2 separate regions of the Homo sapiens genome follow, and region 2 is linked to region 1. The links are contacts of gene promoters, found by promoter capture Hi-C in blood cells and fetal thymus (Javierre and others, 2016). All regions are on one chromosome and are shown on one strand. Each heading gives the region's core, a stretch centred on a gene start or on the middle of the fragment in contact. The rest is flanking DNA. Distances are from core to core; before and after follow the strand shown.

Region 1 (5,649 bases), core at 1,637-4,136:
GTAGAAATTAGCGGCCGGGTGTGGTGGCTCATGCCTATAATCCTAGCACTTTGGGAGGCTGAGGCAGGCAGATTGCAAGGTCAGGAGTTCGAGACCAGCCTGGTCAACATGGTGAAGCCCCATCTCTACTAAAATTACAAAAATTAGTCAGGCGTGGTGGCAGGTGCCTATAATCCCAGCTACTCAGGAGGCTGAAGCAGGAGAATCGCTTGAACCTGGGAGGCAGAGATTGCAGTGAGCCAAGATTGCCTCACCGCACTCCAGCCTGGGCGACAGAGCAAGGTTCCATCTAAAAAAAAAATATATATATATATATATACACACACACATTTGAAAAAAAAGAAGTTAGCCAGGTAATGAAGTTTGCTGTTATGGTCTGAATTTTGTCCCCCTAAAATTCACGTGTTTGTTGAAGCCCCGACCCCTCACACCTCAGAATGTGACTATATTTGGAGACAGGGCCTTTAAAGAGGTGATTAAGATAAAATGAGGCTGTTAGGATGGGCCCTAGTCTAATCTGACTAGTGTCCTTATAAAAAGAGGAGATTGAACACACAAAGAGACAGGTGAGAGGTGCACACCCAGAAGAAAGGCCATGTGGGGGCACAGCCAGAAGGTGGCCGTCTGCAAACCAAGGATAGAGGCCCTCAAAGAAGCCAAACCTGCTGACAACTTCACCTTGGACTTCCAGCCTCCAGAGCTGCCAGATAAAACATTTCCGTTTTTCGAGCCACCTGATCTGGCATTTTTTAATAGCAGCTCAGCTAATCTAATACAGTTGGAAAAGGTGTTTGAAGGTCAAGGGACCGGCCTGAGGGAAGATCTCGAGGCATGAAACAGCATATTCATACCAAAAAGTCAGCATTTCTAGATCAAGAAGCAATCTGAAAAGTTTCTCTATAAAGGGCCAGGTCATATTTTAGATATTTGGGGCTGTAAAATCCTGGTTGCAGGAAAGCAGTCGTAGATAATATCTAAACAAATGAGGGTAGCTGTGTTTGAATAAAACTTTATTTACAAAAACAGAAGGCAGCCCAGATCTGGCCCATGGGTTGTAGTTATCCGACCCCTGTGGAAGAAGGATGTGGGGACTGTGGGAGATGGGCCAGGAGCAGGGTGAGGAATATCTCAGGAGGAAAACCCAGGCCTGAACCCAGGCTCTCCTTCAGCTCTGACCATTGTCTCTTCATGCGCACCTGAATGAAATATTCAAGCACGTCATTCCTTTCAAGCATCCCTTCCTGGGGTAGGCGAGGAGGTTGGTGTGTATACAGAGGGTCCTGTATTCCTGGCTCAGTTCTTGTCTCTACCTCCAGCAGCCTGACCTCTCTGCGTCTCTATTTTCTCATCTGAAAAATGGGAGTATTACTGAACAAAAGGGTTCTGCGCTTGCTCTGCTAGAAGCCAATCTTGATCAGGTGCAGAGGTTCATGCCTGTAATTCCAGCACTTTGGGAGACTGAGGTGGGTGGATCACCTGATGTTAGGATTTCAAAACCAGCCTGGTCAACATGGCAAAACCCCGTCTCTACTAAAAATACAAAAATTAGGTGGGCGTGGTGGTAGGTGCCTGTTAACCTTAGCTACTCGGGAGGCTGAGGCAGGAGAATCGCTTGAACCTGGGAGGTGGTGGTTGCAGTGAGCTGAGATCACACCACTGCACTCCAGCTAGGGCAATAGAATAAGACTCTGTCTCCAAAAAAAAAAAAAAAAAAAAAAAAAAAAAAAGCCAATCTTACTGCATTAAGTTTTTGAGACAAAAGCTTTTTTTGTCCGTATTGTGAGTTGATCAATAAGGAGACAGGAGCCTGGCTCAAATCTGTCTCTCTGTGTTGACTTTGAGGCACTATTTTTTATTAGAAAAGGTTTAGGAGGTGGACTTTAGGATTAGCAGGTGATAGGTGGAGGAAAGGGGAGGCCTGGAATGTCTCAGACATCTCTGTCTCACAAGAATTGATGTGAGCATTAAGTGAGGTGACCTAGGTAAAGTTGCCTAGGGCCTGGCACACAGGTGGTCAATAAATGTCTGTTCCCACACTCATCAATGTCTGCTCCGACCTCCATCGCGAATATGGGGTCATGACTACGGAAATCATACCACGATAGCTGTCCACAAAAAGGTTCACTCCCGAGGCCCACATTCTGCATATTGATATTCCGAACCACCTGAATCTCCCAGGTCTAGCCCACATTCCTCAAAGGGAAAACCCCAGCCAAAGTGCCGAGGTCACGAGCTGCTTTTTAAACAAGTCCCCAGGGAGAGCAGTTGGGGCCAGAGCCCCAGAGCTGACCTGGTCATTTTTTTGCATAATTGTAAGCAGGAATGCCATGACCTGATTTGTCTTTTAAAACTCTGGGTGGGAGACAGATGGTAGGGGAGAGGAAATTCCTCCCTTGTTCCTTTTCGATGTCTTAGAAGATGTTTATTAATTGGGGGCACAGCTCTACCCTCCCCTACACCCACTCACTGGGCTACTAGAAGGTGCTGTCTCGAAATAGCCCACCCAACCGCAGGAGCCCAGAGCCCACAAGCAGCTCAGGGACTTAGAACTGGTCCCACCCTTCCTCCGGGGACCCCCCCTCCTTAAGCTGCAGTCTGTGGGTGGGCTGCAAGTCCCGCCTCTCCACAACCAGCCCCACCCCTTTCTTCAAAACCCCGCCTCTCCGGTGAGGCCCCGCCCCCTCGAGGCTGCATCCCCGTCCATTGGGCGGCCGGCAGGAGGCGCCAGAGCACAGCCCGCCTTTTCTAGCAGGTTGGCCCCGCCCCTCTCCTGGAGACCCCGCCTCCTCGAGGCTTTCTTTCTGCCTATTGGGCGCCGAGGCCCAGCTCCAGCCCACCTGTTCTCCCCCGCCCCACCCTTTGTGGCCCCGTCCCCTTGAGGCCCCGCCCCGCCCGTTGCGCCGCCGGCAGGAGGCGCCGCGGCACGCGCGGGTCTGGGCGCCGGCCCCAGCCAACGGCGGGTGGGAGCAGCGCGGGAACGTGGCGGCGCGGCGGGTTGTGCCGGAGGTGAGTGTGGGGTGCGCGAGGAGTGACTGCGGAACCGGGGGTGGCTCGTAAGGGGCGCTGCTCGGCCGCTGCCGGGGACCTGGGGCGCGGAGGCCGCGGGGCGCGCTCGGGGACACTCCCGGCCGCTGGTCGGGGCGCGGAGGGCAGGTTTGCCCAGTTGCCATGGGAACCGACTGGCTGTCGGGCCCCGGCCTGGACCGGGGGGCGGTACCCGGAGGCCGGCTAGCGCGGGCAAGGGCGGCCCAGCCTGCGGGGATCCGGGGGTCCGCGCTGCCGACCCCCGAGAGCTCCTGAGCCTGGCTGTCCGCGTGGGCCCCGGACCCCCAACTCCAGGGGACTCTCGGCCCTCAGTTTTCCCGGCTGTGCCCTGGAGGGGGAGCTTCGTCCGGGGCGCGCAGCGGGGGAGCGGGGCGCAGCGGGGGAGCGGGGCGCAGGGTTCCGCGCGCTCTCCCACCTGGGCCGGCGAGACGTCCCCTGCACATACCCCGTCCCGGTTGCAGCCCGATCCCCACTCGTGCGCCAGCTCAAAGCATTGTTTCCCGGCTATTTATGTACCATTTCCAGCCCCTCGACAAATACTGCATCCAAGATAACAGATGCTGAGCCGAGCTCCTGGGGCCTCGCAGGAGGAGCCTGTTGGTGGGGTTGGCAGGGCCCTGGCGGGGCTGCGGACCATCCTGCCCTGCCCTGTCGCCTGTCAAGTGTTTGGCTAATCTGAATTGCACAGAAGAATCTGATTGCTCGTGTCCCGCGGTTAATATAGGCCACCTCTTGTGCATTCCAGACAGGAACCAGTCTTGAAAGTCCCTTTTGCTGGGGGGCAAGTCGGTCTCCTCTCCAGCAGCTAGCAGGTCAGAATTAAATCTGATTGAATTATGTTTGCATTTGAAAGCGTGGCTCGGGCTGGGGCTGTAAAGATAGGATTCATGGAAGGAGGGGAGAGAGCTGAGTGTGTAAAGTCTGCGCTTCGTTTTCCCTCCTGCTGGAAATGATAATGGGTTCCACATTGTCCTGTTGGAGCAGAGAGGTCGCTCCACCCATGTCGTCAGCGCAGCACTGACCTCACTCCCTGTACTCGCCGCTGGGACTTGAGCTTGTTTTTCATCAGAAACTGGACCCTTCCTTGAGAACAAGAGAAAACATTCTCTAAGAGCAGCACCAGCCAGCGCCCCACACCCTCGCTGTCCGAGCCCTGCGCTTTCCCCAAGTATTTGTGTCACAGAGGAGCGAATGGGGCAGAAGAGGCCGGTCGCACTTCCAGAAAAACAGATCTTGTTACCCAGGGCGTGCTCCGCCCGGTCGGATTTTCCTGCACTCCCCTTGGCCTTTTAAAAAACGAGTCCATCCCATTCTCACAAACAGGCCAGGCTCCGCCTTCTGGGATTCGGAAGCGGGCAGCGTGTGAACAAGTGGGCACCCTCTGGTCTGGCCAAGGGAGGATGACCAAACGGAGAGAAATGCTTTCTGAAAATCCCAAAACAGATAAGGTTTGTGTAACAGGGACTTCTGGGGGCTTAAGAAGGAGTTATTGGAAAGGAGTCAATCATATTCTCTCTGCTTACATTTTCTCCTGTTTCATGATACTGCTAACTCTGCCTCTGCCTTCGAATCCGGCTCCGGAAACTGTGGGAAAAGCAGGGGTGGGGGGAAGTGGGGGGAACAACATTTCTGAAGTTCAAGCTTCTAAGACCCTGGGAGGAGACCTAGCAGTTGTGTGTTTGTAATTTTCTATTTGTTTTTTATTAAAGAAGAATTATGTAAATGTCAGACCTTACAAAACATATATCCACCCCTGGGCCCCAAATATCAACTCACTTTTCCATTGTATTTGGGGGCCTTTTTATAATTTTTGTCTTTTTTTTTTTTTTTGAGACGGAGTCTCACTCTGTTGCCCAGGCTGGAGTGCAGTGGCGTGATCTCGGCTTGCTGCAACCTCTGCCTCTGGGGTTCAAGCGATTCTCCTGCCTCAGCCTGCCAAGTAGCTGGGGTTACAGGCACCCGCCACCATGCCCAGCTAATTTTTGTATTTTTAGTGGAGACAGGGTTTCACCATGTTGGCCAGGCTGGTCTTGAACTCCTGACCTCAAGTGATCTGCCCGCCTCGGCCTCCCAAAGAGCTGGGATTACAGGCATGAACCACCATGCCCAGCCAATTTTTGTCTTTTTTTTTTTTTTTTTTTTGAGAGGGAGTCTCACTCTGTCGCCCAGGCTGGAGTGCAGTGGCATGATCTTGGCTCACTGCAAGCTCCGCCTCCCGGGTTCACGCCATTCTCCTGCCTCAGCCTCCCGAGTAGCTGGGACTACAGGTGCCCACCACCACGCCTGGCTAATTTTTTGTATTTTTAGTAGAAAAAGGGTTTCATAGTGTTAGCCAGGATGGTCTCGATCTGCTGACCTCGTGATCTGCCCGCCTCAGCCTCCCAAAGTGCTGGGATTACAAGCGTGAGCCACCGTGCCCAGCCATCTTTTTTTTTTTTTTTTTTTTTTTTTTTTTAACAGAGAGGGTCTCACTCCATTGCCCAGGCTGGAGTGACGTGGCGCAATCATAGCTCACTGTAGCCTGGAACTCCTGGGCTCCGGTGATCCTCCTGCCTCAGCCTCCCGAGTAGCTGGGACTACAGGTGCACACCATGCCCAGCTAAT
Region 2 (5,649 bases), core at 1,823-4,322, 280 kb after region 1:
GGGTGCCAGGGAATGTCCTGGAGACGACGTAACACTTGCACTAGGTCTTAAAGGGTGCGTATGAATTTTCCAGTTAGACAAAGAAGGAATAGGCATTGATGATGATGGAACGGTACATGCAAAGGCTCAGAGGCTGGAAACCGTAGGAGGTTTGGGGGCATGAGGGATGGCCTGGAGTGGGTGGAGCACCAGGCACTTGGGGAACAGGAGCTGAAATCAGGCTGTGAGAGCCTCTGACACTGCAGGGGACCTTATGGCTGCTTTCTTTATATATATATACATATTTTTTCGAGACAGAGTTTCACTCTTGTTGCCCAGGCTGGAGTGCAATGGTGCGCTCTCAGCTCACTGAAACCTCCGCCTCCCAGATTCAAGCGATTCTCCTGCCTCAGCCTCCCGAGTAGCTGGGATTACAGGCATGTGCCACCATGCCTGGCTAATTTTGTATTTTTAGTAGGGACGGGGTTTCTCTATGTTGGTCAGGTTGGTCTCGAACTCCCGACCTCAGGTGATCCACCTGCCTCGGCCTTCCAAAGTGCTGGGATTACAGGCGTGAGCCACCCACCGGCCTCTTTATATTTTCATTAAAAAGGGGCTATCTATCTCCAGGAGGGGAAAAATACCATTAAAGGGGGACTCTCTTGTCCTTTCAGAAGGAGGTTGGCTCTTCTGATTGACAGGCTGGGCTAAAACTCACTGCTAACACGCGTGTCTTCCTCCGTGGGACCTGTTTTCCTACTGCCAGAGGCATCCCCACATGCTCAGAGTCACAGCACACATGCTTGCCCTGTGTCCTGCAGTCCCATGAGCCTCCCCATGGCCAGCTGGGAGGCATTGGACACCCACACACACACAGCAGACAAACTCCTCAGATGTGGACTTGAAGGATCGTGGATCCCTGCATGACCGAGTGGAGCAGAGCACCCCCACCTTGGCCTGTTCCGTGAGTGAGAAGTACATTTTTATTTTATTTAAAATTTTAGAGACAGGGTCCCACTGTTGCCAAGGCTAGAGTACAGTGGTGTGATCATGGCTCACTGTAGCCTTGACCTGGCTCAAGCAATCCTCCTGCCTCAGCCTCTTGGGTAGCTGGGGCTACAGACACATGCCACCATGCCTGGCTAAATTTTTATTTTTTTGTGTGTAGAGATGGGATCTTGCTGTATTGCCCAGGCTGGTCTCGAACTCCTGGCTTCAAGTGATCTTCCCACCTTGGCCTCCCAAAGTGCTGGGATGGCAAACCATGAAAAACCATGCCTGGCATTTAAGCTGTTGAGTGTTTGAGGCTTGTTTGTTACAATGGCTTGCCTTACTGATACACCAGGTAAGAAAGGGAAGGTAGATGGAGAGGAGCAGAGCTGGCAAACGAAGACAGCCTCTCTTTGAGGCATATGCAGCATAGCTGGAAATCCACAGACACAACCCTGAAATGATGTATGGCGCCCCAAAGCAGGACACCCTAGCAGAGGCACCAGTTGGAACCCAGAGGGAGCAGGCATTTTGGGCAGGATTCCTAGTTGCAAACCACACAGGCCACTCTGGATAGAAAGGAATTTAGGTAGCTTAGTGACGTGTTGGGTGGGAAGGGGTTGGGACAGAGATCAGAGATCAGAAATGGAGGCCATGGGCTGGGCACAGCGGCTCACGCCTGTAACCCCAGCACTTCGGGAGGCTGAGGTGGGAGAATTGATTGAGCCTAGGAGTTCAAGACCAGCCTGGGTAACATAGTGAGACCCCATTTCTACACAAAATTTAAAGAAATTAGCTGGGCATGGTAGCGTGGGCCTGTAGTCCCAGCTGCGCGGGAGGTTGAGGCAGGAGAATCAGCTGAGCCAGTGTAACACCCGTGTGACCCCACAGGACCCCATGGAGACGCTCCTCCCACCACTTTCTCTCCACGGCCCCCCACGTGGGGTATGCCCCACCAGGGCTCTGTTATGGCTGCCTCTCAGTCCCATATCGCTTTCCATAGGGTGGTGTCCTTCCTCAGGTGCTCTCGTTTGGGTGGGGGCCTTGTGGAGATGCATCTGATGGGCGGCACCTGTGCGAGGTGCCGGCTCTCGAGGGTGTCTGGGAGGCTGAGTCCTGGCTTCCAAGGGGAGAATTCCTTGCAGTTGTGGGAAGGTGTTTTGAAGGCCCTGCATGGCAATGTCCAGGACAAATGATCACGACTTGAGGGTTTATTCCTCCTAGGGCACAGAGCAAGCTAGGGCGAGTGAGAAGCTTCTCGGGGAAGCTGTGGCATTTGACTTGGGGCTTGAGAAGTGAGTAGAGTTTTGAACAATGGAGAAGAGAAGCAATGCGGGGGGTCTCAGGCTGAGGAGCCTGCAGGGAAAAGGCAAGGCAGGGTTTGGTTCAGAGGGTGGTGGTTGTGTGCGGGGGTGTGAGAGTGATGTATGCTTATGTGTGTGTGTGATTGTGTATGTGTATGTATTTCTGCATGCTTATGTGTGTGGTATGTGTGTACCTGTGTGTGTGGTGTATGTGTGTTATGTGTTGCATGTGTGTGGTATGTGTGCATGTATGCACATGCAGGCATGTGATATGTGTATGTGTATATATGTACGTGTTGTGTGCATATGTGCATGTGTGCACATGTGTGCTTAGATGTGTAATGTGTGTACGTGCACATGCGTGTTGTGTATATGCACGTGTGTGAGATGTATGTGTGTATTGTGCACACACGTGCTAGTTTGTCATATGTATGTGAGCACACGTGTGTGGTGTGTATATGTGTTTGTGAGTGGTGTGTATGTGAGCACACGTGTGGGGTGTGTATATGTGTGTTTGTGAGTGGTGTGTATGTGAGCACACGTGTGTGGTGTGTATATGTGTTTGTGAGTGGTGTGTATGTGAGCACACGTGTGTGGTGTGTATATGTGTTTGTGAGTTGTGTGTATGTGAGCACACGTGTGTGGTGTGTATATGTGTGTTTGTGAGTGGTGTGTATGTGAGCACGTGTGTGGTATGTGTGTGAGTGGTGTGTATGTGAGCACACGTGTGTGATGTGTATATGTGTTTGTGAGTGGTGTGTATGTGAGCACACGTGTGTGGTATGTGTGTGAGTGGTGTGTATGTGAGCACACGTGTGTGGTGTGTATATGTGTGTTTGTGAGTGGTGTGTATGTGAGCACACGTGTGTGGTGTGTATATGTGTGTTTGTGAGTGGTGTGTATGTGTGCATGTGCTTGTGTGGTATGCATGCATGTGTGCACGTGTATGTGTGGTGTGTGCACATGCATTGTGTGTGTGTGTGTGTGTTGTGCAGTGTGTGAAGGGAGACAAGGCTGGCTGGTGGTTGGGACCTGATCAAGGAGGACTTTGAATTTCAAGCCATGACGTCCGATCTTTGCAGATGTGGGGAGCCCTGGAGTTTTAGGGCAGGCGGTGGACACTGTGGCTTGGGCTGCTAGAAGGTGACTGTGGCCCGGCGGAGGCCGGCCTGGGCATTCCAGGAAGTGGGCCAGGAGACACATCAGGGAGGAGGTGCTGTGCTGACAGGGGGAGCCCCCAACGGCGTGGGACTTGGGAAGCTGACTGGGGGCCCAGGCCTAGCCTGCCTCATGGGGAAGGCTTTGCAGGGAATGCTGGGGCCACACAGGTGCAGGAAGCTGGGTCAGCACGGGGCAGGGGAGTGCTCCGGCTCAGCTGTGCCTCGTATTGGGATCTCGTCTGGGGTATTCTGGGGAGAGCCTAGTACCTGAGATACTTGCTTCCTGAAGCCAAATAAGGCAAGGTGGAGAAGCAAGGGTTGGGTCAGGACCAGAATCTCAGGCCAGGCAACCAGTAGGAAATGAGGACAAGGGACCAGGGAGTGGATACAATGGTCCCTGTGTCTTTCCCAGGGAGTTTGAATGGTTCCCATCAGGAGGGAGAGCAGGTTGGCAGTGTGCATCAAAAACGTCTGCAACTCTAAGCTTTAGGTTAGGAAAATGAAAGGAAAGAAAGAAAGAAAGAAAGAAAGAAGGAAGGAAGGAAGGAAGGAAGGAAGGAAAGAAAGAAAGAAAGAAAGAAAGAAAGAAAGAAAGATAGAAAGAAAGAAAGAAAGAAAGAAAGAAAGAAAGAAAGAAAGAAAGACAGACCACGAAAAACAAATTCTAGCACTGCTTCCAATCCACAGGCTTGGTGTTTTTCAAAGAAGTTTACAGTCAGTGATTTACTACCCTAAGACTTGAAGATAGATGATTTGGGTTTGCACATGCTGACACACACCATATTCTCACTCTCATTTGCAGAAAAGACATGATTTCTTTTTCTGGGATTGCCTTCCATCTCCAGATAAAATCCTGAATGTGTCAAAGGGATCTTAGAAACTGCATAATTTTATCTGCATGCTGAATATTCCGGAAGCTGCAGGGCAGCAAGTTGTGTTGTGGTTGCAGTGAAGAGGTACTCATTCTCAGTGGTTCCCCATGTTACTGGCTGAATTATGTTTTTATCCCATGTTTTTTGACTTGTGAACTTCCATACATTTAATTTTGCATATAAGGCATTTGCAAACAATACATCCACATTTATAAAAGCGAAACAGCTATAAACACATGAGCATGTACAACACAATAAACACACATTCTATCATGTGCTTTTTTTGGGTTTTTTTTGAGATGGAGTCTTGCTCTGTCGCCCAGGCTGGAGTGCAGTGGCACCGTCTCGGCTCACTGCAACCTCCACCTCCTGGCTTCAAGTGATTCTCCTGCCTTAGCCTCCTGAGTAGCTGGGATTACAGACGCCCACCACTACGCTCGGCTCATTTTTATATATTTAGTAGAGGCGGGGTTTTGCCATGTTGGCCAGGCTGGTCTCGAACTCCTGATCTCAAGCGATCCGCCCACCTCGGCCTCCCAATGTGCCGCGACTACAAACACGCTCTACCATGCCTGGCTAATTTTTGTATTTTTAGTAGAGATGCGGTTTCACGACGTTGGTCAGGCTGGTCTTGAACTCCTGACCTCAGGTGATCCACCCACCTTAGCCTCCCAAAGTCCTGGGATTACAGGCGTCAGCCACTGCGCCCTCCCGGTGGTAGTTTTTATTCGTATCAATTTAAAAGATACAGTGCAGTTTTGTTACATGGATATGTTTTCTTGTTACAAGGATATATTTCACAGTGGGGAAGTCTGGGCTTTTAGTGTAACCATCACTTGAATAGTGTACATCGTACCCATTGAGTAACTTCTTATTCCTCTCTCCCCCTGCCCCCACCCTTCAGAGTCTCCAGTGTCTATTATTACACATTCTATGTCCATGGGTACACGTGATTTAGCTCCCACTGATAAATAAGAACATGCCATATTTGATTTTGTTTCTGAGTTGCTTCTTTTTTCTTTCTTTTCTTTTTTTTTTTTTTGAGATGGAGTCTTGCTCTATTGCCCAGGCTGGAGTGCAGTGGGTGCGATCTCGGCTCACTGCAAGCTCCACCTCCCGGGTTCACGCCATTCTCCTGCGTCAGCCTCCCGAGTAGCTGGGAGTACAGGCGCCCGCCATCACGCCCGGCTAATTTTTTGTATTTTTAGTAGAGACGGGGTTTCACCGTGTTAGCCTGGATGGTCTTGATCTCCTGACCTCATGATCGGCCTGCCTTGGCCTCCCAAAGTGTTGAGATTACAGGCGTGAGCCACCGTGCCCGGTCCTGAGTTGTTTCTTAAAAAA

Evidence for each region. The method cuts DNA at HindIII sites, captures the fragments that hold promoters and counts their contacts. A CHiCAGO score of 5 or more calls a contact.
Region 2: a fragment that was not itself captured here is called in contact with the fragment with the promoter of RADIL in region 1 in 1 of 17 cell types (naive CD8 T cells); the score reaches 5.3 in naive CD8 T cells.

Annotation. Positions count from the first base shown.
Region 1 is chr7:4,880,953-4,886,601 of GRCh38, reverse strand. It overlaps RADIL (Rap associating with DIL domain), which reads left to right and starts at 2,886. Exons shown (of 15, transcript NM_018059.5): 1 at 2,886-3,006. RefSeq lists a silencer at 2,855-3,074 and enhancers at 2,784-3,471, 3,472-4,160, 3,890-4,184. The HindIII fragment of the contact is 2,924 bases long and covers 1,765-4,688 here.
Region 2 is chr7:4,601,052-4,606,700 of GRCh38, reverse strand. No RefSeq gene overlaps it. Among named protein-coding and RNA genes, the nearest start is that of FOXK1, 78 kb to the left of the region's middle. RefSeq lists an enhancer at 1,914-2,415. The HindIII fragment of the contact is 1,694 bases long and covers 2,226-3,919 here.